2 separate regions of the Homo sapiens genome follow, and region 1 is linked to region 2. The links are contacts of gene promoters, found by promoter capture Hi-C in blood cells and fetal thymus (Javierre and others, 2016). All regions are on one chromosome and are shown on one strand. Each heading gives the region's core, a stretch centred on a gene start or on the middle of the fragment in contact. The rest is flanking DNA. Distances are from core to core; before and after follow the strand shown. Region 1 holds the start of OS9 (OS9 endoplasmic reticulum lectin). Region 2 holds the start of CTDSP2-AS1 (CTDSP2 antisense RNA 1).

Region 1 (2,700 bases), core at 35-2,534, 140 kb after region 2:
ATTCCTGGCACTGTTCTGGCCACTGGGAATACAACTGTGAACAAGATTAATTCTTTGACCTCATGGAGTTTACACTCTAATGCGGGGAATCAGACCGAAAATAAACAAACTGATTCAGTAAATATGATTTCAGATCATGAAAAGTGCTACGATGAAAATAAAACAGGATACTGGAGCAGAGTGATAGGGCAGGGGGTGACTTTAGCAAGTAGGCTTAAGGAAGTACTCCTCCTACCCCACGCAGACCCTCAATCTTGCTTTAGCCCTTTTCTGAGATCTTCTATCCTAACCTGCTCCTACGTTCAGCAAAGTGTCATCAGTGGTTGCAGGATTCTTTGCTTCTTTCCTGTCCGTGTAATCTGTCTACTCCTCCAGTGGTCTTCTTAACCACTACAGGTCCCCTAGATCCTGCCTCATTCAGTGGACTCCAGTTCTTGGATGAACTGCTAGTTTCCAAGCCCTCATTCTATCTAACCCAGTCCCTTTCACCTTCAGCAAGCAGGGAGCATCTCTCATTGGGCTCAACAACTCAGGGATCCCAGGCCCTTGGTAAGCAGGTGTTTCCTCCTCCCTTTCACGCTGGAAGTGAATAGCTCCAGCTGGCAGGCGACACTCATAGCGCTGTTTGTACTTAGAGGAGACAATCACCACGTCCGAAGATTGGCTCTGGGAAAGAAGGGAGGGTCGGGGGGCAAGGAAGCAAAGAAAGGCTGGGATCAGGGAGAACAACGAAATCCCTCTTCAAACCCTGGGGAAGAGATCAGTCGAAGACAGAATAAGCCATAAGCCCTCCAGCTGTATTTAGTGGGTGAGAGGAGAGGGCGCTCCCATTTCTCCACGGGGGCGGAGTCCGGGTGTTTCGATCATAAACTGAGACCTGAAGGTTGACAGCGGGAAGCCCCACCTCTCCCAATTCCTGGCCCCCAGAGAATTGGTCTCAGTCTGCGACCCCCAGGGGTCACCGTAAAAGCAATACCTACTCTTCCCGATTCCCCGTAGGCTCCAGCCCCAGACTCCGGAGCTGCCCTTCTTCCTCTATCTCTTACCCGCTTCCTCTTCTGCCCAGACCCTCGCCCCTTATACGCCTCTCACCTGCCCTCCCATGACAGGCAACGGCAGGATCTCGATCCCATAACGCATCTCACTCAGCTCCTCCAGGTTCAGGCTCCCGACACCGCCGGTCAGACTTGCGGGTAACAGGAGTCCCAGAAGCAGCAGTCCTAACAAACTGGACAGCAGCGTTTCCGCCGCCATCTTTCGTTCCCCTTCTTATGCAGAGAATCTGTTTCCGCCCTAAGCCAGGCAGCGGCCTCAACACGCCCATCGGCGCCACATGATTTTATTGGCTGTACGTTCTATCCCTCCCACGTACCCTATTCCTATTTGTAAACGTGGCTCCAAGGTCCTGGGGAGGTGGATCACGACGATTAGAAATATCAATCGCTGTCCGTGATTGGTCAGAGACCAGCCAATCATCGACAAGATCAAACCCCTCCTCGTTCCCCAATTTCAGAGGCGTGGTCTATGCGCTTGGTCCTTTTAAGTTTGCCCTCTGTCTTCGCCCAGCTGTCATGCGCATCTCATTGCTTTTTCAGACGTCTCTTGCATTATATCCTGCCCACCGCCGGGCGGAGTATTGAGGCAGATAGGTAGCGTGCGCAGTGCCGGTGAAAGTTATTAAATGCTTGTTGCAAAACAAACAATTATTATACGGACGCTTACCTCTTTTCATATATACATATTGCTTTGAGGCAATCAGAAAATTTGTGTCAAAACCTTCCTATACGATCCTGCAGTTGACCTCCAGTAAAATGACCTCCAGTAAAAATCCTAGAGAAATAATGCGGGCAGCCAGACGTGGTGGCACGCACCTGTGGTATCAGCTACTCCGGAGGCTGAGGCAGGAGGATCTCCTGAGCCCAGGAGTTCAAGTGCAGCCTGCGCAACACAGCGAAACCCCGTCTCAAATAAGTACGTACATACATACATACATACATACATACATACATACATACATACATGCATACATGGGCTTCCAGTTAAGGTGAAATTATGTATTACTCTCCAGGCCGTAAGAAAGGGAAAGGAGACAACAACAGCAACATTTTGGAAGCTGGAAATCAAACAGAAGAATGTTAACTGGTTTAGCAAACTTGAGAATATTTATTACGAAACAAAGGTAAACAAGAGGCTGATTATACCTTTGGAAAACCCTCTCTGGGGAATCTCACCAGCCAAAACGAAAAATCCCAAAGATACCCTTATCAGAGTTCTCTTAATGATATAGATAACTAGAATGAATTCCACATGTAACACTTTGGCCTACGTGCCCCAGCCCTCATTCCACTTTCCAATCAGCTTTTTAGTGTTCTTACTCTTCAAAATAAATAGCCAGAGATCATTAGACATTTAAGGAAGGACTTTAATATACAAGTAAGAAACAAACAAGAAGGGAAAAGCAAATGAGAGGAAACATAAATTGCAAGGGAGGGGAAAAAACACTAAAAATAAAAAATTTAAAAATAGGCCGGGCACGGTGGCTTACGCCTGTAATCCCAAAACTGTGGGAGTCCGAGACGGGCGGATCACTTGAGGTCAGGAGCTCAAGACCAGCCTGGCTAACGTGGTGAAACCCCGTATCTACTAAAAATACGAAAATTAGCTGGGCATGGTGGCACGCGCCTATAGTTCCAGCTACTC
Region 2 (2,700 bases), core at 42-2,541:
TGATACCTTTGCTCTGGCTGGTGCTACATAGGGCAGGGTCTCCTGCTGAGGCAGGGGCAGGATCCAGTCCTTTGAGTTTTCTTGGATGGCATCTCAGGCTTGTCCCTGCTGCCCTGTGGGCTATTAGATCACTTCCTGACATCCCTCAAGAGTCCTCTGGAGTGGGGCTTGCAGGGCTGAGCCTGCAGCTGACTTGTCTATGAGGAAACGCCTCCTCTGTCTCTGGTCCAGGATCTGCTACTTATGGAGGCCCACCCCAACCCAGCACGTTTTTAAAGTACGTTGGAGCTGCCCAGGAGGGTGTTTTGGCAATACCTCCTTTAGAGGCTGATTCTGAAATCAGCGTGCTTTAGAACTGCCAGAAATCCCCTGCTCCCAAAACTGAGTCCTCTTACCTCTCTAGCTGAGGTCAGAGAACAGATTGCTGAAGGGGCAGAGACAAGAAAGTGTGTGACCTGTGACCCTCGCCCCACAGGTGGCATTAAGGACTCAGGTCTGAAAGAAGAGACAGCCATATAGGGAGCTCTCCTGCCCAGGGAAAGGGAACTAATGGAGACACTGGCTTAGGTAGAGCTGCCCCAGTTGCTGGTGCAGAGAGGGCACCAGCATACAACATGCTGGTATGGGCCAAACAGCATGGCTAAAACTGCTTTTTAATTTTTTAAATTTTATTTATTTATTTATTTATTTTGAGACAGAGTTTTGCTCTGTCCCCCAGGCTGGAGTGCAATGGTGTGATCTCGGCTCACTGCAACCTCCACCTCTTGGATTCAAGTGATTCTCGTGCCTCAGCCTCCGGAGTAGCTGGGATTACAGGAGCTCACTACCATACCCTGCTAATTTTTGCATTTTTAGTAAAGATGGGGTTTCACCATATTGGTCATGCTGGTCTCGAACTTCTGACCTTAAGTGATCCCCACTGCCTTTGCCCCCCAAAGTGTTAAAACTGCTTTTTTCAAAAAATGCCCATGCAGTTAGATACACAGCTACTTTTTGGAACTTCGGGAGCCGGTGCTAAGCTGGGTCCGGCCCTGCCTTGCTTGTTAGCTGTAGAGAACAGTGTCAGTGGCCAGGCATGAAAGCAGTACACCCTCCCCATTGTTTGCAGTCTTTTGTGTGTGGGGGCTGTCTAGGCATCTCACCCTCTTTTGTTCCCTGCCGACTCACCTGCTGGTCCCAGGAGCTCTTCCGTCCACCTGGCACTTTAGGGCATGTCCATAGCCAAGGAACAGATGCCCCTTGCAGAGGACCTGGGAGGACTTCTCTCCATGGGGGAGTCCCAGTCAAATGTGTCTTGGCTGCAGGGTTCAGGCAGCCGTCCAAGAAGGGCCGGAAATGCTCCAAATACTCTCCTTCCTCCAATAGCTGAGAGGAAGGAGGCCCCTCAGAGGGGCCATTTTATAGTGATAGCCAGGCTAAGGCTAAGTCCTTTGCTGTGGGGGATGGGAGGTGGTGGGGAAGGAAGTACTTCTGGGGATGAACCAAAAAAGAAAGCAACTTTCTACCTGAATGGGCTTGTTAAAATCTGATTGTCTCAGAGGTTACCTTCTGCTGAATCGCAGGCAGATGTGTGAGGAGTTCCTTTGCTGGGACACAAAGCTGTGTTGTTGACAAAAGTGGTATCTGGACCTGACTTTCAGGAGAAGATTAAAAACAGTGTTGCCCTGGTCACTCTGGTCTTCGTTTGTGTGTATGTGTGCACGTGTTCACGTGTTTGTACATGTACACTTTTTTTTTTTAAAGACAAAATCTCACTCTGTCACCCAGGCTGGAGTGCAGTGGTGCAATCACGGCTTACCGCAGCCTCAAACTCCTGGGCTCCGGTGATTCTCCCACTTCAGCCTGCCAAGCTGGGACTGCAGGTGCACCTGGCTAATTTTTTTTTGGTAGAACAGGATTTTGCCATGTTGCTCAGGCTGGTCTTGAACTCCTGAGCTGCAGTGATCCAACCGGCCCAGCTTCCCAAAGTGCTGGGATTACAGGCTTGAGCCACCTACCCCGGCCCATGCATAGGGGCAAATAGTGTCCTTACCTGGTACTTCTTGAGAGTAGTGGGGATGAATACCAGGGGAGACAGCGATTTTTGTCTCAAGTGAAACAGTCTTACTTGCTTTTGTTTTTCACAGAATACCCAGTCAGGGAGTTTGTGAGCTGGAAAACAAATTTTGTTGTGGACTTGGGAGAAGGTATAGGGGCTATTTTGACTTTCTGAAACCTGCTCATGATCAGAGCTCTCAGGCACCTTTCCCTCATCTTCTTGGGCTTCATCCACGTGATGATGGTGGGAGGGCTCCTGGTCTGTTGCTGGCCTCCTGGAATGAGGCCCATGATGTTGCCATTTAGTGGTCATCTCCCCTTGGATAATTAATTAAAACAAGCGCAGCATTTAGCTTTAGAGTTAGCACAGTGCCTTACTCTCTAACTTCGTTTATCCTTTCAGTCCTGAGTGAGGGCTTGCTGTTATCCCAGTTTATGGATGAGGAAACTAAGGCTCCAAAAGGCTGTGTGGCTGAGTCAGTAACTGGCAGAGCCTGGACCCCAGCCCTGATGATCCTCAGTGGGGGCATACTCCTCACATCCCCTCTTCTCCTCACACCCCGCCTCAGTAGGAAGACTCGCAGCAGTGAGCTGGATGGCTGGCCTGGTTTCCCTGTCTTCAGCCACCAGCTCACTTTCTTCTTAAGCCAGAGCTGCTTCCCT

The links. Contacts are between HindIII fragments. The CHiCAGO score rates a contact against its expected background, and 5 or more counts as called.
Region 1: the fragment with the promoter of OS9 here is called in contact with the fragment with the promoter of CTDSP2-AS1 in region 2 in 2 of 17 cell types (neutrophils and non-activated CD4 T cells); the score reaches 9.4 in neutrophils.

What each region holds. Positions count from the first base shown.
Region 1 is chr12:57,692,716-57,695,415 of GRCh38, reverse strand. OS9 (OS9 endoplasmic reticulum lectin) reads right to left here and starts at 1,284. Exons shown (of 15, transcript NM_006812.4): 1 at 1,093-1,284; 2 at 490-666. The coding sequence starts at 1,254. RefSeq lists enhancers at 1,044-1,093, 1,081-1,655. The HindIII fragment of the contact is 11,057 bases long and covers 1-2,700 here.
Region 2 is chr12:57,835,682-57,838,381 of GRCh38, reverse strand. It overlaps CTDSP2-AS1 (CTDSP2 antisense RNA 1), which reads right to left and starts at 1,291. Exons shown (of 2, transcript NR_188077.1): 1 at 1,168-1,291. The region is part of intron 1 of CTDSP2 (CTD small phosphatase 2); the gene reads left to right. RefSeq lists enhancers at 1-31, 92-201, 1-402, 992-1,061. The HindIII fragment of the contact is 9,495 bases long and covers 1-2,700 here.